5 separate regions of the Homo sapiens genome follow, and all the other regions are linked to region 1. The links are contacts of gene promoters, found by promoter capture Hi-C in blood cells and fetal thymus (Javierre and others, 2016). All regions are on one chromosome and are shown on one strand. Each heading gives the region's core, a stretch centred on a gene start or on the middle of the fragment in contact. The rest is flanking DNA. Distances are from core to core; before and after follow the strand shown.

What was found. The method cuts DNA at HindIII sites, captures the fragments that hold promoters and counts their contacts. A CHiCAGO score of 5 or more calls a contact.
Region 2: a contact is called between the fragment with the promoter of HCFC2 here and the fragment with the promoter of APPL2 in region 1, in 6 of 17 cell types (monocytes, neutrophils, total B cells and 3 more). The highest score is 10.8, in monocytes.
Region 3: the fragment with the promoter of POLR3B here is called in contact with the fragment with the promoter of APPL2 in region 1 in 1 of 17 cell types (neutrophils); the score reaches 6.4 in neutrophils.
Region 4: a contact is called between a fragment that was not itself captured here and the fragment with the promoter of APPL2 in region 1, in 1 of 17 cell types (M0 macrophages). The highest score is 6.5, in M0 macrophages.
Region 5: a contact is called between the fragment with the promoter of TXNRD1 here and the fragment with the promoter of APPL2 in region 1, in 10 of 17 cell types (naive B cells, activated CD4 T cells, monocytes and 7 more). The highest score is 10.6, in naive B cells.

The regions. Positions count from the first base shown.
Region 1 is chr12:105,233,660-105,239,735 of GRCh38, forward strand. It overlaps APPL2 (adaptor protein, phosphotyrosine interacting with PH domain and leucine zipper 2), which reads right to left and starts at 2,515. Exons shown (of 21, transcript NM_018171.5): 1 at 2,300-2,515. The coding sequence starts at 2,353. RefSeq lists silencers at 2,094-2,343, 2,394-2,533 and an enhancer at 2,398-2,898. The HindIII fragment of the contact is 6,549 bases long and covers 1-6,076 here.
Region 2 is chr12:104,061,372-104,067,447 of GRCh38, forward strand. It overlaps HCFC2 (host cell factor C2), which reads left to right and starts at 3,160. Exons shown (of 15, transcript NM_013320.3): 1 at 3,160-3,352; 2 at 4,796-4,944. The coding sequence starts at 3,190. It also overlaps a transcript of GLT8D2 not described here. RefSeq lists an enhancer at 1,194-1,363, a cis regulatory region at 1,279 and silencers at 2,687-2,846, 2,856-3,025, 3,007-3,176, 3,397-3,536. The HindIII fragment of the contact is 6,452 bases long and covers 2,600-6,076 here.
Region 3 is chr12:106,355,021-106,361,096 of GRCh38, forward strand. POLR3B (RNA polymerase III subunit B) reads left to right here and starts at 2,728. Exons shown (of 28, transcript NM_018082.6): 1 at 2,728-2,931. The coding sequence starts at 2,860. The HindIII fragment of the contact is 8,226 bases long and covers 1-5,679 here.
Region 4 is chr12:106,287,520-106,293,595 of GRCh38, forward strand. No RefSeq gene overlaps it. Among named protein-coding and RNA genes, the nearest start is that of TCP11L2, 12 kb to the right of the region's middle. RefSeq lists an enhancer at 912-1,206. The HindIII fragment of the contact is 3,895 bases long and covers 1,825-5,719 here.
Region 5 is chr12:104,212,961-104,219,036 of GRCh38, forward strand. It overlaps TXNRD1 (thioredoxin reductase 1), which reads left to right and starts at 2,819. Exons shown (of 17, transcript NM_001093771.3): 1 at 2,819-2,933. The coding sequence starts at 2,843. RefSeq lists enhancers at 2,595-3,211, 3,212-3,827 and a silencer at 2,682-2,771. The HindIII fragment of the contact is 5,942 bases long and covers 1,095-6,076 here.

The DNA.
Region 1 (6,076 bases), core at 1,265-3,764:
GAAAAGCCCGGTGCTAGATAGCTGGGCTAACTTGAACCATATCCCTAGTACAGGCAAGTTGCCTGGGTTCCAGTCCTGGCTCTGTCACTTTATGGTGTATAATTCTAAGCAAATTACTTCTCTGCTCCTTAGTTATTTAAATAGAGAATGTACTTCAAGACTATTGGGAGGATTGAGTGAGTTAATATATGTAAAGCATTTAGAAGAGTCCCTGGCACATAAAATCCATGAAACAGGCATTTGCTATTGTTTTTATGCTTTGCACATAAAATGAAGGGGATGGATTAGATTCCTTCCAGTTCCAAGTCTAGGAGTCACCTTGGGAGTAAAGCTACATTAGGCACAGGTCACATACAAGAGAGTAGTATATAAATATGCTCTGATGATCATTAAAGACCTTCTTAAAGTCAGCTTCCATTCTGCACAACAGCACCATCAAGAGCCCTCTTAAGGGTGATGGCCAAGTCTCAAAAGCAATGACAAATAAACTTCCTATATTAAAAGGAACATATTAAATAAGAATGATAATATCTCTAAACCTCCTCTGCCACATACAAGTTCAAAGTTATACACCATGTAGATATGACAATGTTAACTCTAAAGCACCTTGAAGATCACCTGCTCCCTCCCTGTCTCTCATTCTGTAGATGTTCTGTAGATTAGGAAACTGAGCCAGCTACAGGGTGGAGATGAAGAGACTCACCCACATCACATCCTAAGTGAGCGTGAGAGCCAGAATTAGAACCCAGGTCTCCTGACTTGCTCTACAGTCCTGTCTACTTCCTCACAGCTGGGCAAATCCTTTAAGCCACTCACAAACAGTGTATATTCCTTTATGTTAGAGCTGGAAATTAAGAATATGATCTGTTTGTGAGGACAACATCAAGAATCAGTTAGTATAATCACTGTAACCTGGCTTAGGCATCACCATGTAGGTTAGAAAAGCAGGATATTTCTGTGCACCTCAGTTTCCATAAGTGCAAGGCAAACAGAGATCCTTGTTCAAAGTGATCATTTAAAATCTCACATTGCTATCTTCAGATTCCACACAACAGATATGAACATGGACAAAATGCCTTCTACCAAGGGCTTTAGTCTGATTAAAATGCCAGGAGTCTACAGCCATATAAAAAAGGGAGGCCTTGAAAAAGTCGTCCAGAGGATGCAAACTTACCAAAAAACAAAACAAACAAACAAAAAACACACACACAGCTTGCTTCCAGTTCCTTACTTATCTACACTAGGAGGATCACAAAAAATGAACAAAAGACACCTATGCATACAGCCCTTCGGACTTATTCTGAACTGTCGATGTAGGTAAATCCATACAAGGATCATCCTGGGAAGTATTATTCACTTAGAAGAAAAAGGGAAGGAACCCCAAAAGAGAGGGGAAAGTGTGAAACGAAAATAGGTTAATCTTATTCTAAGTTTTCAAGAGTTGAGACACTAGGAAATAAAGGCACTTATTTAAATAAACCCGGGATGCTGAACCAGGAGTGTAGGTACGAAGCTGGAGAAATGTTAAACAAAGGAGAACAAAAGACCCCTGGGGAAAGATGTGCTGAATTATGAACTAATGTCATCCTGCACTCATTTGCTATATTTACACACCAGTTTTCATCTGCAGAGCTCAAAGGACTTGACTCTCATCTCGAGTGTGCTAATGAAGTTCCCTTGTGCGACAAATGGGGCAGGTACTGTATTTTTCTCTTCACTAATGGGAAAACGGTGCCAAAAGGAGGCCTGGTACCGCCGGAAAAGAGATCCAGGCCCTCTGCCTCTCATTCTGGCTGGCACAAGTCTCATCACATCATTAGGAGTAGCAGTAATAAGACTGACTCATTATCTGTACCGGACATTGTCTGCTGACAACTTTACAGGTATTTCTCATTGACTTCTCCTAACAACCCTATGAAGCAGGCACAATTATTATTCCTATTTTACAGACGACAAAACTAAGGCACAATAAGGTGGTTTTCCTGAGGCACTCAGCTACTACATGGAATCAAAGTTTAGATCTCGCAGACTCAGTTGCAGCTGAGCTTGCAGGGGGGTCACGACATCAAGACTCCGGCCGCGGGGCTCTCTCCCCTGTTCCACAGCTCTGCCCCGGCTCAGGACTCAGGGCCCGGCCCGCCCCCTCCTCAGCCCGAGAGAACCCGGTGGGAGGCGCCGCGAGGGGGCCGGGCGCACTCCCGCGGCTGCCCGGCCGGGGGCGCGGCCTCCACTCCGGGGCTGGAGGGGCCTCCTCGGCCTCACCCCTGCGGGCGAGGGGCACCGGAGCGGCGGGAGGTACCTGGGGGCTGTCCTGCAACGCCTCCTCTAGCAGGAGCTTGTCCACGGCGGGCATGGTGCGGCGCGGCTCAGCCGAGGGCTGGGTTGGAAGGACAGAGGGCAGGAGACGCGGCGGCCGAGAGCACTCCCCGGCTCTGGGCTCAGGCGACGCGGCGGCCACTCCGTGCCCGCGGCGGCCCCGCGCGCGTCCACGCCTGGCCAGTGGCCGCCGCCGCCTGCCCGCCGGCCCAGCCCCCGGCCGAGCCGGATCAACAGGAAGTGTGGCGCGCCCGGCAGGGAAACCGGAAGTGTGGTGAGCTCCGGTCCCGACACCGGAAATGTGGCGCCCGCGCTTCCGCCTGCGCTCGCCGGCTCGCGGGGAGCGGGGGGCTCTGGGTGCCAGTCCCGTTGCTGAGGGAACCCTTCGGGTGTTTGTTCTCTGTGCTGAAGGTCCGTCAAGTCAATGCATATGAAGTCCAAAAGAGGAACTCGAGGGTAGAAAGATAAGGTTTTATCTGCTTATGGCTACCCAGAAAGCCTTTTGAGTTGAAGGAGCGAACAGATTTTTTCTTTTAATGGAAGGAAAAACCCACACTTCCCACACCACTTTTTCTAGATAAATTTCGACGCCCCTGAAACAGCTCTGAGAGCAAAGAGGTCGCCTATGCTATGGGAACAAAGAAAAGAGGAGAAAAGCTGGATAACTGACTCGTCTGTGATAATCAGAAATAACCACTTTGGAAACCACAGCTATTTGATGTGGTCATAATTAGGTCTCGTCCTCCTGGTTTATGTTTTGTGATTTTGGAGAATTTCATAATCAAATGTTTAGAATTGGAAGGGCTAGATAATCTAGGTTCCAGTGTTGTCATTTAGAGATGAGAAAATGGGACCCAGAGAAATAAGTGGTCTGCCCAGGGTCAGTTAGTAAACGCCAGAGGAAGAAAAGAAGGAAGGGAGAGGGATGGAAGAAGACTGGCAAGTGGAACGTGACACCTTTTTACACGGAAGGCAAGGGTTTCTGAAGTTCCTTCTTTAGAAGTTAATAAGACTGGCCGGGCGTGGTGGTTCACGCCTGTAATCCCAGCACTTTGGGAGGCCGAGATGGGTGGATCACGAGGTCAGGAGTTCAAGACCAGTCTGGCCAAGATGCTGAAACCCCGTCTCTACTAAAAATACAAAAATTAGCCGGGCGTGGTGGCATGCGCCTGTAATCCCAGCTACTCGGGAGGCTGAGGCAGAAGAATCACTTGAACCCGGGAGGCAGAGGTTTCAGTGAGCCGAGAGGGCACCACTGCACTCCAGCCTGGGCAACAGAGCAAGACTCCGTCTCAAAAAAAAAAAAAAAAATCATGCAGTATGTGTGTCACCAAAATCAACAGAGGGGATATGGTAATATATAAATTCTGCATTCTGCAGAGACCTCTTAGGTATATCAAGACCCAATCTGCATTGCTGACACCTCTGACAGTCTAGTATAGTAGCATGCTGCCTGATCACTTGAAAACTCCAAGGCCATTATTCCCTTGGTCTGGCCAGCGCCAACCTGACCTGAACCATTTTATGGCCTCCATCTACCATATTTTCCTCCACAGTATTCTTTCTTCCCTATTCTTTCTTGCCTCCACCATACTCTTGTCTTCCCTATAGGTGGAATCATGCTCACACCATATTTCTTCCCTTTCCTCTATTTTATACCGCCTGCCATTCAGTTCATTTTACCTCATCCAGTGTCCCAGACTCTCTTCTCACTGAAATCTAATTCCTCACGGCCAGACTCATGCTCTTCCTTCATCCTGATTGCGAGAACAGTACAAGGATAGTATTATACCCAGGGAAATAAATGTGCACATTTTAATTTGAAAATATGCATTACAAGAAGTTAGTGCCCTCAGAACCCTTGAAAGGGCTCAGACAGCCCCTTGGGAATCACAGCATTTTTCATGTACCACCTCATCTTCTAATTAAAGTTACTTTTCTTCAAATACTAGTATTCAACATTCAAAAATTGTTTAAGCTATCCCATTACTTTTCTGCATTTTCTTGCTACATTATGGGCTAAACAGCCTTAGTGGGATTTCTTGGAACTTAAGAACTGTTTACAACATTGTTTCTATGGGAAAATCTATCCCAAATTCAAAACAACTAAGTTACAAAAGTAGATCTGGAAATACAACACATGCATAAATGGTTTTAATTTATCTCATTTGTTAATTCATCCAATCATTCATTCATGTATTAAATATAGACTGCTCAGTGTTAAGCACTGTCTCCCACTTGTTTGATTCTCATTTAAATTCTGAAGGCAAATATCCTCTCCTTTGATAATCTGTGAGAAACTACATAAGAGGAATTTTTATGTCAACATGAACATTTAAAAATGTTTCATTAAAGAGTATATATCTGTTCCTATTAAACTATTATGCAGGTGGATTTTAGAAATCCACCCCACTGTCTCTGAAATCCCTGGTCAGCTGTGAAGTTGGTGACAGGAAGTATAAAGATGGACAGTCTGGAGTTGTCGTGATGTCTGAAGAGAGAGAGGATGAATTATATGGAGGTGTAACCTGTGACCCATTGAAGGCCAGTGGGGAAAAGGACACAGTGAGACACAAAAAAAGGACCCAGGATGGCCAGGTCAGAGAAGGCCTGGGGCTTCAGGAGTAAGAGAGAAAGGCAGGAGTGAAGAAGGCAGCTGTTTTGGGAGATGCTTAGCAAACTGCATGATAGGGCACACGCATTGAGATTCTTTCCTCTGCCAGTCAAGCCCTTTCTCCTGCCTCTTGTCTGACAAACCCAACCACAATCATCAAATCCCAGTTTAATGTGACTTTTTTGATGAAGTCTTCATTTACTCCTGTCCCCCCAAGCAGAATACATTTTCCTTTCCTTGAGTGTGCTTCAGTAGCACTTGCCGAGATAATTCTAGAATAACACTTACCTCTCTTTGTTTCCACCTCCAACCTTCCAGCTAGAATGGGTAGGAACTTGGTCTTATTTATTTCTGTAATTAGAGTGCCTAGTACATTACCTAGCACAAAAGCAGTTGCTTGATAAATACTTACTAAACTATAATGTGTTATTATAACTTATACATGATTGATACTCCAGAGTTTAAAAAATGTTTTCATGAATCTCATTTCATTTGATAGCACAATGCTGCTTTTGCCGTTAATCATTCACTAGGTAGCACCGACTGTGTGTTAGACTCTTCTCTAGAAGCTGAGGATATAGGCTGAAGCAAAAAGTAGTCCTTGCCCTAATGGAGTTTATATTCTAATGGAGGAAATAATAAGAAACAAATACAAGTTGATAAGTGTATGATAACCTTTAGTAAAGGAATAGAGGATCATGGGAAGTGGAAAGGATTCTTTGAGGTGTGCAACTGTTGAGCTGAGAATTGAATCAGGGAAGCCCAGCCCGAAGGAAAGAACAAGTGTGAGGGCCCTGAGGCTTGCTCCTCTTTGAGGAGGAGCAGAAAGGCCAATGTGGCTAAGGACAGCGAGGCGGGAAAGAGTGGGAGGAGATGAGGTTGAAGAGATGCCAATCACTGGCTCACAGAGGACGCTGAGTCCATGGGGAAGGACTTTGGGTGTTGCTCTTGATATGGCAGGAAGCCACTGTAAATATGAGCAACTGAATGACAGGGTCTGATTTACATTTTTAAAGACTATCTCTGGGTTCTGAAGAGGCTTTTGCAATCCTTCAAGCAAGAGATTTGAGAGATATAGGTCAAAGTCGAGGGTATGGAAATGTTGGGAGGTAGTTGAAGTCTGAACATATTTTGAAAGTAGAACTG
Region 2 (6,076 bases), core at 1,910-4,409, 1.2 Mb before region 1:
TTTGATTTTTTCCTTTAACCTTGTGCTATAAGGGCATTAGAAAAAAACTACCATCTAGGCACAAAACTCTCAGAACAAAGTACAGTTCTTTAAATTAAACACTTTGGGTTTTATGAAAAACTCACTGCTTTATTCCAACTCTTCCAGTTTTATTTCAAATCCATAAAAACTTTATTATGGCAACATTTAAGAGCCTCCTATGTTATGTATGTGACATAGAAAAATATTAATAGATAAATATTCATAACCTCTTTTCTGTTCGCAGACATCTTATTTCTCCCTCCCTTTCCAAATTCTCTTTGGACATATTATGAAATTGGGCTGGCCAGGCGCAGTGGTTCATGCCTGTAACCCCAGAACCTTAGGAGACCAAGGTGGGCAGATCACCTGAGGTTGGGAGTTCAAGACTAGCCTGACCAACATGGAGAAACCTCATCCCTACTAAAAATACAGAATTAGCCAGGCGTGGTGGTGCATGCCTGTAATCCCAGCTACTCAGGAGGCTGAGGCAGGAGAATTGCTTGAACCTAGGAGGTGGAGGTTGCAGTGAGCCAATATCGGCGCCATTACACCCCAGCCTGGGCAACAAGAGCAAAACTCCATCTCAAAAAAAAAAAAAAAAATGGGTTAATACTCAGTGAGAGGGAGAATTTAAGAAGCAGAAGCTAAAAAAAATAGTGAGAATTCCTTTTGGGGTTTTTGTTTGTTTGTTTGTTTTTTAGACTGAGTTTTGTTCTTGTTGCCCAGGCTGGAGTGCAATGGCACCATCTTGGCTCACTGCAACCTCTGCCTCCCAGGTTCAAGTGATTCTCCTACCTCAGCCTCCCAAGTAGCTGGGATTACAGGCATGCACCACCACGCCCGGCTAATTTTTGTATTTTTGGTAGAGATGGGTTTCACCATGTTGGCCAGGCTGGTCTCGAACTCCTGACCTCAGGTAATCTGCCCTCCTCGGCCTCTCAAAGTGCTGGGATTACAGGTGTGAGCCACCGCACCCGTCCTGAGAATTCCTTTTTAAAACATAGAGAGTTATCTCTCAAAAAAAGCTTAGATAGATGAGAAGGTGGAGAAGCATGCTGAGGTTTAAGGGAGTTGGGTGAATGAGGCATATAAGAGAAATTGAAAATGGTAAAATAAGAGGAAAAAAGAGTTTTAGGAAATTTACTATACAGTGTCTGTGTTCTCCTTTGAGTACCTCTTGAGAATCTGAGGTAGGGATTTAAATTGCTTTCAATTTTTTCTTCCACTGGACTTGTATCTCTTATTTATCTCTCTTTAATAAAAATAGAGATGGGATCTCACCATCTTGACCGAGCTGGTCTCAAACTCCTGGGATCAGTGGATCCTTCTGTCTCAGCCTCCAAAAGTGCTGGGATTACAGGTGTGAGTCACCATGCCCAGTCCTTTTTCAATTAAAATTTTAAAAAATAACTTGTATTGTGGATATTTAAGATATACAATATGAAGTTGATATCATATAGACCAGGGGTCCCCAGTCCCCAGCAACCAGTCCTCGGCCTGTTCGGAACCCCCATGACCTTCCTGAGCTCTGCCTCCTGTCAGATCAACCGCGCATTAGATTCTCATAGGAGCTCGAACCCTACTGTGAACTGCCCATAGGAGGGATCTAAATTGTGTACTCCCTATGAGAATCTTATGCCTGATGATCTGAGGTGGAACAGTTTCATGCCAAAACCATAGCCCCCATCCCCTTGCCAAGTCCATACCACCCACTCCCCTGCCAAGTCCGTGGAAAAATTGTCTTCCATGAAACCGGTCCCTAGTGCCAAAAAGGTTGGGGACAGCTGAAACAGGCAGTCACAAGGTTACTATAGTGAAGCATATTAACATATCCATCATCTCATATAGTTACCACCAACCCTTTTTGTGTCTCTGTGGCAAGAGTGGCTAAAATCTACTCATTTGGCATGAATCCCATATGCAGTGCAGTTTTATTCCTAATGGACTTGTGTGATTATGTGTAGGACCAAATCACAGGGCAGCTAGGCCTTATTAAGTGTTGCATTGGCTGGGTGCGGTGGCTCATGCCTGTAGTTCCAGCACTTTGGGAGGCCAAGGCAGGAGGATCACTGGAGCCCAGGAGCTCGAGCTTGCAGTGAGCTCTGATCGCGCCACTGCATTCCGGCAACAGAGCCAGACCCTATCTAAAATAAATAAATAAAAATAAAGAGTTGCGTATGACTGCTACCAGAGGCAGTATGGTATAATGGTTGGATATGACTGCTATCAGAGGCAGTATGGTATATGATATAAGGGCTTGGGGGTTCTGGAATCAGAAGCCCTGTGTTGGAATCCTGGCCCCAGTCTTTTTTTTCAACACCTCTCCTTTGTGTCCATCAGAAAATTACCTTACTGCACTGTGCCTCATTTCCCCGTCCATGAAAGGGAGATAACAGGAGCCACCACACTGGATTGCTGGATGGATTACATGAGTTAATACACATGAGGCACTTAGGGCATGCCAGGCTGTGGACAGCCCTCACTTGTTAGCTAGCAATGAAACAGAAACCTAGAAAACCATCTCTCCTCTGCTTAAGCCAAACAAACCAAAAATACCTCTTGTGGCTCACGGTTCCCAAGCTTCCTGGCATGGCTCCGCACAAAGCTGCCTTCGGTTCGCCCGGCAGGCTTTGTAGCGACCTTCCCTGCCCGGGTCCCAGTCACGGTCGGGAGCAGCCGCCGTGGCCCGGGCTCGCGAGGCAGGCTCCCGCCCGCACCCTCCCGTGCGAGGTCCCCGCCCTGCGCTCCCAGCTCTTCGAACCTCTACCCGAGCTTCTCTCACGTTGCTTGTGAGACTGCCTCGCCCACACATCCTAGATGCTCAATTAAAGTGGACGTAAAGGAAGATGCTGTGGCTTCTTCCCAAAATACCGAACGGGAGGCTCTGGGTGGGGATGGGAGACGTGGTCAGTGGGAAGCGTCCTTCCACCCTAAGGTGCGTTGCTCCGGGTGGCCGCTGGCCAAGTCGCCTGGGGTGGGGGCGGGGCTCCCCTGTCAGGACCCCCCTTCCCCAGCGTCTCTCCACTGCCCGCGGGCCTCCAGCCTGGCCGCCGGCGCCCGCGGCCACGTGACCCCAGCACAGCTGGAGGCGGGTCCCCGCCCTCCCCAGGGAGCAGCCGGTTGAGGCGGGAGCGGTGCATTGTGGGCAGAGGGGCGGGGGTTGGGAAGATGGCGGCTCCCAGCCTCCTCAACTGGAGGCGAGTTTCTTCCTTCACGGGGCCGGTCCCCCGCGCCCGGCACGGACACCGAGCGGTGGCCATCCGGGAGCTGATGATCATCTTTGGAGGGGGAAATGAGGGCATCGCGGATGAGCTGCACGTCTACAACACGGGTAGGCGCGGCGGCGGCTCGTCGGCCCCGCCTGCTGGAGCTGCGGAGGGGGAGGGGAGGCGAGGCGGCGGCCGCGGCCCTGACAGCTGTCACCGCCCGGTCACTGCTTCCTTGGGCGGGCGGCGGGGAGCGCGGCTCAGCCGGGCAGCCCGGGTCCGGCAGCTCTGTCCCGGACCGCAGCTCAGGATCTCCGGGGCCCTTGGGGCGCAACGGACCCCGAGCGGGGCGCACCGGCCTTCAGGCGGGGGATCCCGGACGCCCCCACCCCAGCCCGACAGGCGGACGCAGGCGACAGAAGACCATGTCCAACCGCCTGGGCCACTCCCCGAAATCTCGCCTCTGTCAAAAAACAAAACCCACTCCAAACCAAAGTTCCTTAGGGCCTTTCCCGTCTTTGCCTGCCTTCCTTCCTTAGGAGGAAGACCATCTAGGGGGTGAGGAGGGAAAACGAGAGGCCTTCTGGCACTCTCGCCTCAAATACAACCCGGTGTTTGGCAGGTAACGGTCAAGAGCCCCTCCGTGAGCCGCGCTCTAAAGCGGCGGGGACGTGGTGAGGCGGCCTTGTGTCTGCATACTCGGTGTGGACGCCCTTCTGGACTGGCCCTCGGAAAGAGGACTGTCATAACTTGAGCACCACTGCAGATCACAAGTGCCCCTGGGCAGGGAGCCCCTATCTTTGAGGACCTCTGTGGAATAGAAAGGAAACTGGATTTAATTTTTTTTTCCCCTTGTAAATGCTCAGGCTGTCACAAGAAATCTGTTTGGTGTAAAGACAGTGATGGAATTTTGGGTCTACTTCATGACCGATAACTTTTCTTTGATCAAACAACTTAATCACAGGAATAATTTGAAGGTTAACAAAATAGTGGAGTCTGAGAAGTTTTATTTTTTTCACCCTCTCCTCCTCCCAGCGCCCCAGCATATGAAGGTAAAAAGTTACTGACACTTTGGTCTTAGTGTAAAATCCCTGGCTTTGGAACAAATTAGACCTGATTTGAATCTTGCTCTGCCGGTTGCCCAGGATCAGCGCTAAAGTTACCAAACCTTTTTAAGCCTCACAATTTTCAGTTGTAAAATAGAGATTTTTATACTCACCCAGCAGGGCGTTTTGTAAGAATTAAATGATACAGATCAGGGTTTTTCAACAGCAGCACTCTCGACCTTTTGGGCCAGGTAATTCTTTGTTGAGGTTGGGGGAAGCTGCCCTGTATTGCCCTGTACATTGTAAGATGTTTGGCAGCATCCCTGCCTCTACCTACTAGATGCCAGTAACAGCCCCCTCCAGTTGTGACAACTAAAAATGTCACCAGACATTACCAAATGTCTTCTGGGGGGCAGAATCATCCCCAGTTGAGACCCACTGATATTGATGATATATATTTGCTGATAGTATATGATAACCGTTGTTTGTTATAATCGGTTTTCATTTTATTTTGGCAACTAGCTACGAATCAGTGGTTTCTGCCAGCTGTTAGAGGAGATATCCCTCCAGGCTGTGCTGCCCATGGATTTGTCTGTGATGGTACCAGAATATTAGTATTTGGGGGAATGGTTGAATATGGAAGATACAGCAATGAGTTATATGAGTTACAAGTAAGTGTATTTAATATTGTTTCATTCTGAGGCTTTAATAATGATATTGTTCATAATTTTTCAAAAGATTGCAACATTACTAACATTGTTTAACACATTTTAATATTATTCAAGTAATGTATTATTCAAGTAAACTATTATTCAAGTAATATTATTCAAGTAATGTAAACTTCACATTTTATAGCTTTATAGAAAATGTTTCCACTTCACTTAAAACCCAAAGTTTCCTGGCAAGTCTTTTTCCCATACCCAGTGCAACATTTATAACATCAAGATATCTGTTACGTAGCATCAGTTGTACATGTTATATATTTAGGTTTTTGTATCTTAATGCAGTAGAAACTTTAGCCTGCAACAGGAGCGCCTGGAGAACCTGTGAAAACACAGATTGCTGGGTCCTACCCAGAGAGTTTCTGAGTCAGAGGAAGGCCATGAGCATTTGCATTTCTACCAGGTTCCCAGCTGCTGATGCTCCTGGTTTGTTTGTTTAGAGACAGAGTCTTGCTCTGTCACCCAGGCTGGACTGCAGCCGCGCAATCTCGGCTCACTGCAACCTCCGTCTCCTGGGTTCAAGCAATTCTCCTGCCTCAGCCTCCTGAGTAGCTGTGACTACAGGCACGCGCCACCATGCCCAGCTAATTTTTGTATTTTTAGTAGAGACGGGTTTTCACCATGTTGGCCAGGCTGGTCTTGAACTCCTGACCTCAGGTGATCCACCCACCTGGGCCTCCCAAAGTGCTGGGATTAGCCGACGTGAGCCACCGTGCTGTGCCGCAAATTCTTAAGTATTAAGTACTGCAGGACTCACAGAGGGATAGTTGGCATTGGTATCAACTGACATATTCACAACTTTGAATAAAACTTTCCACATTTGGAAAATCACCATGCCTGGCCCCTAGGCTATACTTTGAAAACCACTGCTTTAGTGTTTTAGAAATTGTTACCCTCATACTAATATTTACTACACCCCCCACCTTGACAATACATACAAAAGAGGAGTAACAGTTTCCCATAACCTTTCTAAATTTGAGTCTTATTAAACCAGACTCATAGCCCTTGTTGACTTTTCTTCCTGATCTGTGCCTTATCCCTAGGGCGGTGATCATGCGGGTATCTGCTAATTGGCAGATGT
Region 3 (6,076 bases), core at 1,478-3,977, 1.1 Mb after region 1:
AGGACTATGAGGGACTGTGGCAGCTATGGTCTAAGGGCCAACACCGTTCAGCATTAGCCGATTGTTGCCGTATAGGACTTTGGGACCATGGCTACCAGAGCCTCCTGCTTTTGAAGAGAAACTAAAAACAATCAGGATTCTTAAAAAGTGAGTATAATATCAAACATCACCCATTCGTTGCATTTTTTCTTTCAACTCACTCATTCAACACAAATATATTCAGGAACAACTGATGGGTTAGAAGTTGGAAACACAAAGACAAACAAGATAGTTCCCGTACCAAGAGCTCAGTCTGGATAATGAGACACATAAAAAGAGGATATGGCATTGAGTGATAAGTCTTAGGTTAGTGATTTCCAAAGCATAATCACTGGAAAGCAACAGCAGGGAACTTACTAGAAACGCAAATTTGCAGGCCGGGAGTGGTGGCTCACGCCTGTAATCCCAGCACTTTGGAAGGCCGAGGCAGGCGGATCACCTGAGGTATGGAGTTCGCGACCAGCCTGGCCAACATGGTGAAACCCCGTCTCTACTAAAAATAAAAATTTAGACGGGTGTGGTGGCGCATGCCTGTAGTCCCAGCTACTAAGGCGGCTGAGGCAGGAGAATCACTTGAACCCAGGAGGCTGAGGTTGCAGTGAGCCAAGACCGAGCCACTGCACTCCAGCCTGGGTGACAGAGTGAGACTCTGTCTCAAAAAAAAAAAAAAAATGCAAATTTGCAGCCAGCGCGGTGGCTCACGCCTGAAATCCCAGCACTTTGGGAAGCCGAGGCAGGCGGATCACCTGAGGTCAGGAGTTTGAGCCCAAACTGGCCAATATGGCGAAACCCCGTCTCTACTAAAAATACAAAAATTACCTGAGTATGGTGGCACGCGCCTGTAATCCCAGCTACTCGGGAGGCTGAGGCAGGAGAATCGCTTGAACCTGGGAGGGTACAGTGAGCTAAGATTGCACTACTGCACTCCAGCCTGGACGACAGAGTAAGACTCCATCCCCGCCCCCCACCAAAAAAGCAAAATTTCAGCCCCAATTTACCAATCAGAAAGCTGAGATTAGTTTAACAAGCTCTCCAGGTGATTCTGATACACCCTAAAGTCGGAGAATCACCTTGATAATGGAAAGCAAAGAAGACTTTGGCACAGACAACCAACACACTTGAGCCAACCTTGAGATCCTCTGCCATCTATAAATCACTTTCACAGTCCCTTCTAGGCTAGATGCTAAATTGGTTGCAATCTGGTAATGCACAATGATGAGACACAAGTTGTATCTTGTCTCTGTAATAAGTAAATTGTAAGAACTTCAAAGGCAGGGTTGATTCTACTTTTGGTGTTTTTTCCATTCTTCTCGTATTTCAGATATCAGTGCAATACTTAGAAAATACGGCCGGGCGCGGTGGCTCACGCCTGTAATCCCAGCTACTCGGGAGGCTGAGGCAGGAGAATGGCGTGAACCCGGGAAGCGGAGCTTGCAGTGAGCCGAGATTGCGCCACTGCAGTCCGCAGTCCCACCTGGGCGACAGAGCGAGACTCCGTCTCAAAAAAAAAAAAAAAAAAAAAAAAAAAGAAAATACAAGTACTGAAATTTAAGTAGCTCTTTAGTAAATAAGAATAATTAACCTGGTGCAAGGGTTCTACCTTTATGAGGGAGAAATTGGAAAGCATATATGTACTTACAAATTTTCATAACTTTTCTTATCGTTGTAAAATATACATAAAACTTAGCATTTTAACCCTTTAAAATGATGTACAGGTCAGCAGCATTAAATACATTCACACTGTTGTGCAACCATCACCATTCTCCATTTACAGAACTTTTGCATCTTCCCAAACCGAAACTCCGTACCCATTAATTAATTGGTGCATTTTGCCTTGTTTTTTCTAATAGGATTTTTCTTTCTGTTGATTTGTATGAGCTCATTTTAAATTAGAGAGACCAGCCCTTTGTCTTCTGCCAATTTATTTTTTATTAATTCTATTTGTTGGTGATTTTTTAAAATCTGTTCAGAAAATTAAAAATTTTCCGTGGAATCATAAAATCGTGTTTAGATTATAAAATCCTTTATGATTTGACTGTTGCCGTCTTGAAAGTCTTCAACATCTCAATGTTATGAATATCTGCACTTACATTTTCTTCTAAGTTTTTGTTAACATTTCAATATTTAATCCACAAAAGATTCACTTACATGTATTTTTTCCCCAAATGGGTAATCAGCTCTTCAAACATTATTTACTGGACAGGCCATCCTTCCCCTACTAACGTAAATGTCATCTTTTCATATTAAATTTCTCCATGCGCTGGGTATTTACTCCTACATCTTCCATCTAGTGCTTTTGAGAATTTTCAACACTCTTCCATTACACGCATGTACCATCATTTATTTAATCAATCTTCTATTGGTAGGCATTTGGGACGTTTCCTGCTCTTCCATACTAAACAATGCATAGAATTTTGGACTACATTAAATAATTCTCTGCCTCAGTGGTTCAAGTTGCGTAAATTATGCGTTTACACTTTTCTTCGGATTACTTTTAAAATGACAACCACTATGTTTTGCTGGTCTCAATTACCAGAGAATTGGCAAGAAACCTGACAGCTGGGGCTTAGGATTCCCTGCGCCAGACCTCCGAGCTACACCAGAGGGCGTACTTTCCTTACTCGGCCTCGGCCACATCCGGGTTCCACCGCAGATTCGGGCAGGGAGCGGGCGGAACCTTTCTACCGCGTCTCTAGCTAACACGCACGGCGGGGACAGTTTAGGCCTCCGCGCACCGTTCGCCGGGAGTCTTGCAGTTTGCTTGGTGCAGGGAAGGCGGGCGCGGAGGTTCTATCTGTTTCTTCCTCCTTCGTGAGCAGCATGGACGTGCTAGCGGAGGAGTTTGGGAACCTGACTCCGGAGCAGCTGGCGGCGCCGATCCCGACTGTAGAGGTCAGTGCCAGGCACGCAGGGAGCGTCAGGGACAAGGATGCGCCCTGAGGGGGCGTTGCCCGGAGTGCTCGGGCCGCCAAGGGGGCGGGCTGGCGGTTTGTGCGCATGCGCCGGGCTTCTGCGCATGCCCAGAGCGTCGCGCTTGCGAGTCTTTTTTCCAGAGCCGGCCTCCGCGTGCGCGAGTGAAGGCTGATCCCAGAGGAGCTGTCAGCCGCTGCGGGGGCCGAGAAGCCCCGCTGCTGGCTCTAGGGTTGGAGCTCTTCCAGCATAGGTGTGCGTGGGGAGGACTGACCCTCGCACTTACTGTGGGGGACGTATTGCATGTTTGCAGTCTTACAGAGGACACGGGGCCAGGGAGCTCAGGCCATTTGCATGAGGCACCACAGCCGGCTGTGGGGGTAAAACCAGATCGTCTGAATTCCAAGCTAGTCATCTTTCCTTTTAACTTGAAGTTCCAGTTTGGGTTGCAGGGGAATTTTAAACGCCCTCAATATTTACTAAAGAATTTGCCTGTGTGTTTTCTGGGGGAGAGACTCCACAGCTTTCATCAGCTTCTCGGAAGTTAAGGACAGCTGCCCCACAGCGAGCTGCCCAGTGAAGTGCGGCTGTCGACATATTTTGTTATCTGATAAGGCACATTTTGTAATCTCTCTGAGCCTCAAAATCTACACTGACGTGGAATAGGGAAGTGGAGACGTGGCCGGAGAAGATAGCAAAGGAGAGATTTCAGGGAAAGAGAACAGGATACTTGAAACCTCCTCGGCAAGACCATTGGATGTTTTTGAGGAAGGAAAGTAAATCCAGTAGTATTAGAGTGAAGAAAAATAGAGGAGAAGAGATAAAAGACAGGGTTAAGTAAGGGTCTTGATTATGAAAAGTTTCAATAAACATCTGACAGAGCTTGGACTTTGTCTTGGAGCAGAGCTTTTGAAGGGTTTAAGCAGGAAAGTGACATGATCAGTAAGTCTATCGGATTATAAGAACCTCCTTGGCTAGGCGTGGTGGCCTGTAATACCAGTAGTTTGGGAGGCCAAGGCGGGCGGATCACTTGGGCTCAAGAGTTTGAGAACAGCTTGGGCGACATGGCAAAACCCTGTTTCTACAAATAATACAAAAATTAGCTGGGTGTGGTGGCGTGCACTTGTCCCAGCAACTCAGGAGGCTGAGGTGGAAGGATCACTTGAGCCTGGAAGGTCGAGGCTGCAGTGAGCCGTAATTGTGCTGCTGCACTCCAGCCTGGGTGACTGAGACCTTGTCTCAAGGAAAACAAAACAAAACCTCTTTATAATAGTTTGACAAGTTAAGGAAGTTGAATTAGCAGTTCCAACAGATTCAGTCTATAAGTGCATGCAATAGGCTGCTGATCATCAGGCAAAACTATTTTTTTTTTTTTTTTTTGAGACGGAGTCTAGCTCTGTCGCCCAGGCTGGAGTGCAGTGGTGTAATCTCGGCTGACTGCAACCTCTGCCTCCCGGGTTCAAGCAATTCTCCTGCCTCAGCCTCCCAAGTAGCTGGGATTACAGGCGCCCACCATCACCGCCAGCTAATTTTTGTATTTTTAGTAGAGACGGGGTTTCACTGTGTTGGCCATGCTGGTCTCGAACTCCTGACCTCGTGATCCACCGCCTCGGCCTCCCAACGTGCTGGGATTACAAGCGTGAGCCACCGTGCCCGGCTGCAAAACTGTATTTTAACCGTGAAAAGTGAATATCAAAGAGCCAGCATTCACTGAGCACTTGCTAATGTGCCAGGTTCTGTTTAACCATAACATGCATTATGTTATTTAATCCTCTGAAATAAGTACTATTTTCACCCCCATTTTGCCAGAGAGGCCCAAAGATGTTAAGTAAATAGCCTTGCATTAGAAGCCTGGTAGTGGCTAATCTGGAATTTGGACTCTTGTCAGTCTGACTCGAGTCTTCATCCCTAACTGCTATCGGACCGCTTCTCCAGAGAGCTGAAGAAATAAGCCTGGGAGATTTCTATTTCTTATCTGAATTTACACAGCTATGAAGTGAACAGTGCTATAATTCCAGCCTTCTGATTGAAGAATAACAGTTCCTCTTCCTGCACTCTGTATCCAATCCACCATCACCTCTAAAAAGTCCTGAGTTCTTAATCTATGCATATCTGAAACTTCATTCCCACCGTTTTCCAGCCCAGAACGACTGTCCTCTCTTACTTCCTAACTGGCCTACCTGGCACCTGACTTGTCCCAATCCAGTCTGTTCCTTGCTCTGCAGCCAGAGCTGTCCGTTTAAACACACAAACATGGTTATGTTGCTCCCTTGGTTAAAGTTCTTCAATCTCTGCCTATTGCTCTTAGGGCAAAATCTAGTGTTTACCATGTTTGTAATAAATTTCCTCAGTCTGACCAGTGCTTACTTCTCTAGTCTCTTTTCCCATGGTTCCCCCCTCTCCCTCCCCTGAGATCTTTCTACTCTGCTCAGTTTCTTCTGGATCGCTCTCCCCTTCCTATTTGTAGATTAAATCCCACATATCTATAATATAACTTCCCTAGGAAGGCCTTTCCTGATTCTCCCAGAAGATGGTAGATCTCTGCTACTTGCTGCCATTTCCTTTTAAATTGAGATATTAAAATATTTACTTAAACTTTCCAACTTCAGTGTTTTCGCTGCAACTTTTTCTAGTTAGGAGCTCAGTTTTACTTGAACTGGCCATGCCTGGTGTGTATTTTTTTGTGCTTATGGTAGCACAGCAGCATGGTAGTATGGTAGAAACAACACAAGCTTTGGAGCCAATTAATCAGTTACTTGTTGAATAAATATTTGTCAGTGTTACTGAGTACTTACCTGGTGGTGTATTATTCACAGGGTTTATACAAGTTCAAAAAATGTGTTTTCTGCCTCCCAGTGTGTTATAGGCTTATAGAGAGAGACGTGTAAGCAAGTGGAATAACATGCAATAGGTACTGTGATACAAGTAGGCGAGGGGTATTTTGGTATTACAAATGGTAGCTAGGATGTGATGCCTGAACTGAGTTTGCCAGATGTGGATGAAGTGTGGTGGTGCGGAAGCATTCCAGATAGAAGGAGGAGGCGTAGGCACAAGTACAGCTGCAAGCACAGCATATGATGTATGCCTCGCTGTGGAGTTAAGACATGGTGAAGAGGGTGGGGAGGCA
Region 4 (6,076 bases), core at 2,522-5,021, 1.1 Mb after region 1:
GAAGGTAGCCATAACAAAGACTATTAATTCTGACCTGTGGCTTCTTGTGGTTTAAGAGCATTTTATGCTCTTAGAGCATTTGGAGATCATTTCTTCGAACTGTTCCAACCTGCCTCAAACCAAATATTACCTGATTAGTAAAGAAATAGCAAATTAGTCAAATGTGCATTGCAGGGGGTGTGTGTGTTGGGAGGTAGGTTTCTTCCTTTAACTGACTTTCTTTGAAGACCTACTAGGCCAAATCACTGCTGGAAGAACTAAAGGTTGGGCTGGGGGGTGGTTACAGAGGTGAGTGAAATTTGGTCCCTGCCTTCCAGACACTAAAAATCTAAAGGAGGAACAGACATGAATAGAAATAAATAAACTCAAAAAGGATGTTCTCAGTAGCACTTAATGTCACTTTCACACCTAAGATTTTATTATCCTATTCTATTTATCCATTCAACAAATATGTATTCAGGTCACCCAGGGGAAATTGAAACTGAGGTCTGTGGGGAGTACAGAGAAGGGCATAATTACTTCCAAAGGTGGAGCCGTGGAAGGTTATGATACAGGTTGCATGGTAGCATCTGAGCTGAATCTTAAATGGCAAGTAGAAATTTGGGAGATAGATAGATTTATGGGGTGAAAGATACCGTGAGAAAAGAGTAGTGTATAAGTAAAACCAGGACCCCAAATTTAGGTATCAATAAGTGTTTTAGCATTCCTAAAGTGTGACAAATAATGGTGGGGTTTTGTGGTATGTAGTCTTTCCTAATCTGTGGCAGATACATTCCAAGACCCCTAATGGATGCCTGAAACCATGGATAGCACCAAACCCTATACAGACTATGTTTTTTCCTGTACATACATACCTATGAAAAAGTTTAATTTATAAATAAGGTACAGTAAAAGATTGACAACAATAATTAGTAATCAAATAGAATAATTATAACAATATGTGAGGATCACTACTCTTGTGCTTTGGGGCCATTATTAAGTAAAATAAAGGTTACTTGAACGCAAGTACTGCAATACTGCCACAGTCAATCTAATGGGTTACTGAGTGACTCACATGTAGTGTACACAGCATGGATATGCTAGACAAAGGGATGATTCATGTTTTGGTCGGGTTGGAGCAAGATGGGGCGAGATTTCATCATGCTCCGCAGAATGGCACACAATTTAAAACTTATGAATTGTTTATTTCTGGAATTTTCCATTTAATAGTTTCAGACTGCAGTAGACAGCAAGTAACTGAAAACTTGTAAAGCGAAACCACAGATAAGGGGGAACCACTGTAGTTTTAAAGCATGTCTGCAAATTCTTTGACACTTCCTACAAAAGGTAAAGTCTAATGCCCCTCCCTTCGAATATGAGCCGACTCTAATGACAGGCTTCTAATTAAGAGAATGTAGTGGAAATGACACTTCACAACTTCTGAAGCCAGGCTAGAAAAGGTGATACAACTTCTACCTGGCATGCTCTCATAACATGTGCTTTGGGAACCCATGTGTGAGAATTCCAGCTACCCTGAAGCTACTGGGCTGCAGAGACTACGTGGAAAGGCCACATAGCGAGATGGAGAGATGCCTCAGAGGCCCAGCTACTGGAGTCTTCCCAGCATCAACCACCACCACAAGTGTGGAGATTTTCCAGTGACTCTTACCCTCCACTTTCAAGTCTTCTAGGTCAGGTCCCAGACATTGTGGAGCAGAGATAAGCCTTCCCTGCTGAATCCTGTTCAAATTCCTGATACACAAGAATCTGTGAGCATAATGAAAGGTTGTTTTGTGCCACTAAGTTTAGGGACTAATTTGTTGCACAATCATTATAACTAGAGAAAGCTTGCTAGAAGATAAGGCAGAAAGAATTGGTTGCTTCCCAATCAATGAAGGCCTTGAAGTTTGAGTTTTACTTGGGAGTAATGGGGAGCCACTGATGGTTTTTGAGTAGGTATGTGACATGACACATGATGAGAGGAGGAAGAGAGCAAGATATGGAGTCCATGATTCAGGGAAGTGGTATGGAAGCAGAAACATCGGTCTCTGTGGCTTTCTCTCATCTCCTTGAGAAATCCTGAGAAATATGAAAACAGAAGCATGGTGGGCAGGAATATCTAAGATATACCAATGTATAAAACCACTGCTTCAGGACCTGAATATTACACCAAAAGCTAGTTTTCTCTTTTCTTCCTCTCTCTCTCTCCCTTTTTTTTTTTTTTTAGATTGAGTCTTGCTCTGTTGCGCAGGCCGAAGGGCAGTGGCACGATCTTGGCTCACTGCAGCCTCCACCTCCCGGGTTCAAGTGATTCTCCTACCTCAACTTCCCAAGTATCTGGGGTTGCAGGCAGCAGCCACCATGCCCAGCTAATTTTTTTGTAGTTTTAATGGAGACAGGGTTTCACTATGTTGGCCAGGCTGGTCTCAAACTCCTGACCTCAAGTGATCTGCTTGACTTGGCCTCCCGAAGTGTTGGCATTACAGGCGTGAGACACCGCACCTGGCCTTTTTTTCCCCTCGTTTTCAATGGGATTAAGAAAAAACTAGATTGGCGAGACTTATACAAAGAGAAATCAACTAAATAATGCGAAATGTATCATCCCTCTTGCTCTTTAAGTCTGGCTTTTCCCCGCTAGGTACACACTGCCATTTCTCACCTCTTTGAGTTTTGTCATTCTGTCCCCTTACCTAGAACACTCTGACTCCCTTTCTTCTTCTAGCTAACTCACCCCTCAAGACTCAGCTTTGGGGTAGCTCATTTGTTTATTTATTTACAAAATATTTATGAAGAACCAAATTTTGTACCAGACACCACATCAGGCACTAGAAAGACAGCCATGAAGAAGATTACCTATCTGCGCAGAGTCCAGTGGGAGGAAGAGATGTAACCAGATATATAAATGAAACAGTGATGGTATCAATTTTATTGGTACAATTTTGTCCAGGGCACCCAGGTGCGGTGGCTCACCTTTGTAATCCCAGCACTTTTAAAGGCTTGGGGCAGGAGAATCACTTGAGCTCAGCAGTTCGAGACCAGCCTGGGCAACAAAGCAAGAACCTGTCTCTACAAAAATAAAATAAAATAAAATAAATTAGCTGGACACAGTGGCATGTACCTGTAGTCCCAGCTACTCAAGAGTCCAAGGCAGGAGGATATTTTGAGCCCAAGAGTTCAAGATTGCAGTGAGCTATGATCGTGCCACTGCACTCCAGCCTGGGTGACAGAGCAAGACCCTGTCACACACAAAAAATGAATCTGGAGTCCCAAGAAAGTGAGTGAAGATCCATCCATCACTTCCCTCCTATTTCACTGGCCAGAATCCAGTAAATCCGGTAGTAAGTCAATATCTAACCATAAGGGAGGCTGTGTGACCAGCAGGTAAAGGAAGTAGATAAGTCACTCTCTGGCACATAGTCTACATATGTTCATTTCATTTTACTTTCACAGGATTCCCAATTAGTTAGGCCTGATCATTCTCATTTTATGGACAAGATAATTCAGACTTTGAAAGGTTAAGCAGCTTGCCTAAAATCCTTCAGCATTTAGATAGTAGTGCTGCAATTCAAACAGAAGGTTGATTTTTTTTTTAATAAATCTACCCTCTTTCCACTGCCTGTATGCTATTTTTCCCAACCCTGCTACTATTCCCCAAAAGAAATGTTTATGTTGTTATGTGTCTTTGTAAATAATTATACAGTCATGCATCTCATAACTGTTTCAGTCAATAGTGGACAGTATATTTGATGGTGGTCCCATAAGATTACAGTGTAGCTGCCCTAGATACATGTACCATAATTTATCTTTTACACCATATTTTTTCTACTTTTTGTATGTTTAGATATGTTTAGACACACAAATACTTGCCATAGTGTTACTACAATTTCCTGCAATATTCAGTATGGTAACGTGCTGTACAGGTTTGTAGCCTAGAAGCAATAGATTAGACCATATTGCCTAGGTGTGTAGTAGGCTATGCCACCTGGGTTTGCGTAAGCACACTCTGTGATGTTTGCACAAGGACCTAATGATGCCTTTCTCAGAGTGTATCCTGATCATTAAGCAACCATGACTGTAATTGTTTGAAACACTGCTTAATCACCGTACTTTGCAGAATTCTGGGTAGTCCTAAATGATTCTTCATCTTTCTTGGTTTGCCTGGAGTTTGTTTCAGCTTATCGTGTCTCCAGAAAAACTATGTAGATTTTCCTCAAGAATCTCTGCGGTCATATAGCTTTTGATTTTCTTTAAAGGGACAGAGATCCCTTTGCAATTTAAGCAGAGAGAAGGGAATATATTTTCTTCTTAATTTTCACCATTAGCTCTCTGACCCCTCTGACTACCTTGTCTATTTCCTAATTTTCAGGCAAAGCAGAAAGAAAGAAAAAAGGAAAAAGGAAGTTATAGTCAAAGTTCGTCAGAGTTAACTTCCCTCCTAATCAGTGATTGTCCCTGCCAACTAACTTCCCGCACTCCCAGCCAGTATTTAGAAGTGTGTCTGTAACGTCCTCTTACCAATCAGTATATACAGCACTGAGAAACTACTATGTCACAGGCACCGTGCAAAATAACATAGATTAATTTAAAGATGGATATAGGCCCAGCACCGTGGCTCACACCTGTAATCCCAGCACTTTGGGAGGCCAAGGTGGGAGGATCACCTGAGGTCGGGAGTTCGAGACCAGCCTGGCCAATATAGTGAAACCCCATCTGTACTAAAAATACAAAAAATTAGCCAGGTGTGGTTGTGGGCACCTGTAATCGCAGCTACTCTGGAGGCTGAGGCAGGAGAATTGCTTGAACCCGGGAAGTGGAGGTTGCAGTGAGCCGAGATCGTGCCACTGCACTCTAGCCTGGGCACAACAGAGCAAGACTCCGTCTCAAATTAAAAAAATAAATAAATAAAAAATAAAGAAACAAAGATGGATATAAAGAGTTATTGTCTGAAAAAGGTTTTGGGGCAAACACGAGCAAGCATTGCTCACTGCAGGCTCCAATGCACAGGCAGAAGTATCTCCTATTCTCGTCACCCATGACCAAGAGGTGTATTTGGGTTAGGGCATAGCTGCATGTGCCTCAGATCTGTACTCCAGAAGAGGAACTCCCATACCTGTATTTTCCCCTTTTATGGAGCAAGTATGAGAACGACTTTGCCCAAAAGAGACATCGTGGTCTCAGCCATCAGGTAGTCTGAGAATAAGAGGCAGCTATTGAGGGGAGTGTTGGTAAACACTACCTGCCCAGCATCTGGAGACTTTAGGTGCTCAGGAGAAGTTTAATTTTTGCACAACCCCTCCTGCTAAAAGGAAAAAAAAAAAACCCTGAAACCCTTGTTAGTCCAAAGTCAGGCAATTAATTTGAGCCTCTGAGTTCAGCCTTCAGACAGTTAAATTGCTTGTATTCATGAGTAGAAGACATTCCTTGTGCCCAAGGAACAGTCTGAAGTGAGTGACTTTCATGTCCTCCAATAATTACAGGATATGTGTGATACATGCTGTACATTTAAAAGATTTCCTGAAGTCTGCTTTTTTGCATCTAGTCATGCATAGCAGATTTCATGGGTGAAAACAATGCTTGGGGCCCTACTTTTCTTCATGGAGATGGCAAAAATGCTTAAAGAGCTAGGTGAACCATGTAAATGAATGAAGTAGGCTACATATAAGAGGGGTGGGCTTGTGGCATTCAAATTCAAAGTCCACCTGTGGGCTGAAAGCCACTCATTGCAATGCCCTCTACATCAAGCTTATGGTTCAGCTTTGGACTCCTGAAGAAATGGCGCAGAACCATCTATGTAGATTTAGAAAGTGAATTGAGTTCCTCACCTCATTTGGCAAGAATGGTGAATTTCCCACAGTTCGCAGGTACCTGTGGTTCCAAAGTGAGCTGCCGTTTTTGAAAATTATAAAAGCAACACTGAAGCAGTTTAAACCAATCCAGATTTTTAGCTAAGTAGTTCCAATTTTCTTCCTTATCAGTTAAGCTCATATCAGCCTTATTTTTCAACAATGAATTTGACCTAAATACTGATTTAGGGGCCTGAATCTGTTTTGTTGAGATCACTTGAGAACTTCTTGTACATGTATCTGCTTGGCTACTC
Region 5 (6,076 bases), core at 1,569-4,068, 1.0 Mb before region 1:
CAGGTAGGCACATGACTCTCAGATACTTTTGCCTAGGTGTTTAAAATAACAGGAAAGCCATCATCTTAGTTAAATACATGTACTAAATAGAGAAAAATACATGACAGCCACAGTTGGAATTTTGATGATAAAATGGTAATTTTAACATAAATTGAATAGCATATTTAAAAAAAAAATCTCTGAAACAGTCATTCCAGTGGAACCAAGGAACTGTAGACCTGGCTCGCAGAGGGAGGGAACTTTGCTTTTAAAGGGTCCTGGCTTAGTTGCATTAGTTACTACAGACACCAAACACTTGGATGAAGTTGTTATTAGGATTTACTTTAGGGCCGGGCACGGTGGCTCACACTTGTAATACGAGCACTTTGGGAGACTGATGCAGGTGGATCACCTGAGGTCAGGAGTTTGATACCAGATTGACCAACATGGTGATACCCTTTTTCTACTAAATACAAAAAATTAGGCAGGCATGGTGGCTGATGCCTGTAATCCCAGCTACTTGGGAGGCTGAGGCAGGAGAATCACTTGAACCTGGGAGGTGGAGGTTGCAGTGAGCCAAGATTGTGCCATTGCACTCTAGCTTGGGCAACAAGAGCAAAACTCCATCTCAAAAAAAAAAAAAAAAAAAGAAAGAGAGAGAGAGAGATTTACTTTAGCTTTGTGCAATGTCTGTTATTAAAAGCCTTTGGTGGCCGGGCACGGTGGCTCATGCCTGTAATCCCAGCACTTTGGGAGGCTGAGGTGGGTGGATCACAAGGTCAGGAGATTGAGAACATCCTGGCTAACATGGTGAAACCCCGTCTCTACTAAAAATACCAAAAAAAATTAGCGTGGTGGTGGACGCCTGTAGTCCCAGCTACTAGGGAGGCTGAGGCAGAAGAATAGCGTGAACCCGGGAGGCGGAGCTTGCAGTGAGCCGAGATCGTGCCACTGCACTCCAGTCTGGGCAACAGAGCGAGACTCCATCTCCAAAAAAAAAAAAAAAAAAAGCCTTTGGTTCAGTTTTATTTGTTTTCTGTGTTTAAGCAAATAAACACCCAGTGTTTTCCAAGAGCATTTTGACTCTGGGCTGCTCTCCAGAGAAGCAGGATATAAGCTTGTCCACAAACCCAAATGAAAACAAAGGGCCCACACAATTGCCACGCATCTGGTGACCAGACAAGTTCACTAAATCTCAGCTGGGGTGGAAGTTCCTTGAGACCAGGGAATTTGAGTCACCTTGTAACCCTAAACAAAGCCAGGCATAAGTTGGATGCTTACCATATGTTAGTTAATTGAAAGAAGGAAAAACAGAGCACTGCACTGATAGAGAACAGTGACTGTGCACCTGATGTGCCGCAATGTGGTTTGGTGTTAAAAAAAATCACTCTCATTCATTACTAGTAGGAGTTCAAATGGGAACCACAGTTCCAAAAAAGCAATTTTGGCAACGTGTAATGACAGCCTTAAAACTATAAACACAAAGATGTTCCCTGCAGCCTTATTCATAATTTTTAAAAATAAAAAACAAACTAAACATCTAATAATAGGCTATGTAATCGTCCAGTAGCTCTAGTGGATGGACTATTACATTATTATAATTATTCAAATTAATATTTTCCCGCTTCTTCCCTGCTTTCCTTCAAGAGGTGGGGGAGGCCACCTGGCCCAAGCTGAAGGCCAAGATACAAGAAAAAAATGCAAAGGTTCTATTTTGGCAGCGTTTACATGGGCAGGGTGTCGTGGGGAGGCTGGCGGAGGGAGTGGGAGCAGGTGACAGAGAATATAGGGTAAGTTAGAAGGCTCTCAGTGCTGGTAAAAATAAAATAGAGTAAAGTAAAGGGTGGGGGTAGAGTTGAGGGGGGCGTGATCAGATTTCTGTTCAAATAGGATGGTCTTTTTGCTGTGAACTTAAGACTGCTCTAAGGCCAGGCGCAGTGGCTGACGCCTGTAATCCCAGCACTTTGGGAGGCCGAGGCGGGCGGATCACAAGGTCAGGAGATCGAGACCATCCTGCCTAACACGGTGAAACCCCGTCTCTACTAAAAATACAAAAAATTAGCTGGGCATGGTGGCACACGCCTGTAGTCCCAGCTACTCGGGAGGCTGAGGCAGGAGAATCGCTTGAACTTGGGAGGCAGAGGTTGCAGTGGGCTGAGATCGCGCCACTGCACTCCAGCCTGGGTGACAGAGTGAGACTCCGTCTCAAAAAAAAAAAAAAAAAAAGACTGCTCTAAAAAATAAAGTGTATTAAAAAGAAACTACGATGTTCAGTGTATGCTTCATCTACGGTCAAAGAGGCAAAGACTGAAGTGACAGTGGAAGCCAGGTGGTTATCTGGGAGGCTTACAAGACTATGTGATAGTATGGAAAATACTAGTATTAAGTGAAATGCTGGATGCAAAACTATGCATAGAGGGGAAAAACTGGAAAGAAATAGTAAACACAGCAAAAGTAGTTTGTGTGAAGGATAAATTTTTTAAAATTATTTTTTGTAGAAACAGGGTTTCTCTACATTGCCCAGGATGGTCTCAAACTCCTGGGCTCAAGCGATCAATCCTCCCACCTCGGCCTCCCAAAGTGCACAGGTGTAAGCCACCGCGCCCAGCCGAAGGATAAGGATTTTGGGTGGTGCGCTCTTTTCTCCTTTCCATTTCTGCATTTTCCAATTTACCTTTAGCGACCGTTCTTTCCTGTTAAAAAAAAAAAATTCACGACCTTGAAGAAGATACACGGGCTATGACTTCGCTGTTGTCACCGAGCGCCCCGCCCACCGCGTTCTCCGACCCGCGGCCGGCAGGGGGCTCGCGGCCTCCGCCAGGCGTCCTTCGGCTCCGTCAGTTCCCACAGGGCCTTGTGCGACATGGGCTGCGCCGAGGGCAAGGCAGTGGCGGCGGCCGCCCCAACGGAGCTGCAGACGAAAGGCAAGAACGGCGATGGCCGCCGTAGGTCAGGTACGACCGAGGGCGAAGGCCTGGTCCCCAGGTCGACGGGCCGAAGCGGGCCTTCCGGCCGGGGTTGGGGATAAAGTGCCCCGGAGCCCTGGCCTTGAAGCCCCTCACTGGAGTCAGTGACTGACCGCGCGCCACGCTGGAGACCCCAGAAACGCTCCCCCAGGTCACCCCGGGAGACGGAGGCCGGCGGCCGGCCGAGGGCTGCCCCGCCCGCTGGCTGTGAGAGAGGTGGGAGGTGGAAGGAGGAGCGGGCCCGCCGCGAGGACCTGCCCGGAAACCTGTCGGAAACCGAACCGAGATCTCGGCAGCGACCCGCCTGATTTCGCTCAGGGCCCGTTAGGGCGTCCTCTTCCTACAAGCACCGTGTTTCCAATGAAAGGTTACGGGGGAAGCGACCAAACCGACAGCCGAGTCCGGGGGTGCCCCTTCACCTCTCCAGAAGCCCCCGGCCCACTCCCAGCATCCTCCTCCATCGAGAATCTTGTCCGACACGCCTTCCCGGCCCCCTTTCTCCATCCCCTTGAATTTTGGGCACATTTCTCCCACCATCATCCCGCTTTATCCTTTCACTTGTTCTTCCAGAAGAGAAAGCTCCCAGTCTCTTCTCCATTGTCCGGATAATGCCAATAATGGCTAGTGGTTACTAAGCACTGACATGAGAGGGGCCTTTGGAAGCACTAGACATGGGTAATAATCTTGGTTCATGTTTCCAGCCATACTGAGAGATTTATCATAAACCCCATTATACAGATGAAGAAACTGAGAAGCAAAGAGGTTATAAAACTTACCCAAAGCACACAACTAGTAAGTGGAAGAGCTGGGATACCAGTTGAGGCCATCTGACTCAAAAGCCCTGGTCATAGTCATATGGCCGCCTCCACCTTTTTTATAGGCTTGAGAAAGTGAGGCTCCAAAAAGTGCCTTGCCCAATGGCTAGAATTATTAAATGCTGTAGGATCTGCCTCTTTCAAAGGCTTACAGTTTAGTTACAAGGCAGCATATGGTGAAGGGCTAAAAGGAGTGGTAAAAACAGCCAAGTGGGGATGGCAGCTCCCATAGATGAGGTAGGATTTGGTAGAGGTGTCTGAAGGGAGAACATTCTTGTTAGGGGAAGCAGCCGGTGAGACCATGCTAGAGATAGGGAGGCCTGTATATCCTGCTGGAGTTAAGGACTTGGATTAGGGGAAGGGAAGAATAAAGGAACAGGGTAGGAGCAAGGTCAGGCAAGGTCCAGGTCAGGCAGCTAATTTGTGGCCATTAGTACAATGAAGGAGTTTGAGCAGGTGCATCCCAAATTGACGTTTCATGTGCCATCCTCAGGATCTTCTTGATATCTATGTCCTTCCATTTATTTACTGTTTTTCTTTAGCTACATTCTTTTTGTGTGTGGTTAAAAAAAAAAAATTTACCATCTTAACAATTTTGTTTTTTTTTTTTTTTTAGTTTCGCTCTCGTTGCCCAGGCTGGGGTGCAATGGCGCCATCTTGGCTCACCTCAGCCTCCACCTCCCAGGTTGAAGCGATTCTCCTGCCTCAGCCTCCCAAGTAGCTGGGATTACAGGCATGCACCACCACGCCTGGCTAATTTTGTATTTTTAATAGAGACAGGTTTTCACCATGTTGGTCAGGCTGGTCTTGAACTCCTGACCTCAGGTGATCTGCCCACCTCAGCTCCCCAAAGTGCTGGGATTACAGGCATGAGCCACTGCACCCAGCTGACCCTAACCGTTTTTAAGTATACAGTTTTCAGCAGTATTAAGTATATTCACATTGTTGTGAAGCAGATCCCCTGAACTTTTTCATCTTGCAAATCTGAAACTCCATGCCAACTCGTTAACTTTTCATTTGCCGTTTCCCCCAGCCCCTGGTATCCATCATTCTACTTTCTGTTTCTGTGAAATTTGGCTACTTTAGATTGCTTATATAAGTTGGTATCATACAGTGTCTGTCTTTTTGTGACTGGCTTGTTTCACTTAGCATACTTGTCTTCGAGTTTCATCTGTATTGTAGCATGCGACAGGATTTCCTTACTTTTTAAGGCTGAATAATATTCCATTGTGTGTGTGTATATGTACATACACACACACATATATACACACACACACACACAAAATGGAATATATATACACACACACACCACATTTTTTTTTTCCCGAGATGGAGTCTTGCTCTATCGCCAGGCTGGAGTGCCGTGGCATGATCTTGGCTCACCACAATCTCCGCCTCCTGGGTTCAAGCAATTCTCCTCCCTCAGTCTCCCAAATAGCTGGGATTACAGGCCCGCCACCATGCCCAGCTAATCTTTGTATTTTTAGTAGTGACGGGGTTTCACCATGTTGGCCAGGCTGGTCTTGAACTCTTGACCTCGTGATCTTCCCGCCTCAGCCTCCCAAAGTGCTGGGATTACAGGCTTGAGCCACCACGCCCGGCCTGAACTATTTTATAATACAGAAAAGCTCACTCGTTATAATACAACTTGCTAAATTTTTACAAACGAAGTATATGCATGCAGCCCACACTCAGCTGAGGAAATAAACGTTTCCAGTACCCCAGGAGCCCCTCTAATGTCTCTTACCCCCATACCAAGGGCAAACACTACTCTGATTTCTAACAGCATAGAAGAATTTCACCTATTTACATTTACTTTTTGAAACTTAAATTTAGGCATATTTTAAGCATTAATCTATTAAAGCACGGCTTTATACTAGGTATTTTTCTTTTTCTTTTCTTTCTTTTTTTTTTTGAAATAGGGTCTTGCTCTGTTGCCCAGGCTGGAGTGCAGTGGCCCAATCATAGCTCATTGCAGCCTCAACCGCCTGGTCTTAAACAATCCTCCCACCTCAGCCTCCTGTGTGGTAAAGTGTGCCACCAAGCCCAGCTAATTTTTTTACATTTTGTAGAGATGAGGTCTTGCCATGTTGCCCAGGCTGGTCTCAAACTTCTGGGCTCAAGTGATCTTCCCACCTTGGCCTCCCAGAGTGCTGGGATTACAGGTGTGAGCCACTGTACCCAGCCTAGATATTTTTCTATACACATACATATATACATAATGATGATTATTATTTTTCTAGAGATGGGTCTCACTCTGTTGCCTAGATTAGAGTGCAGTGGCATGAATCATAGCTCACTGAAACTGAACTGCTG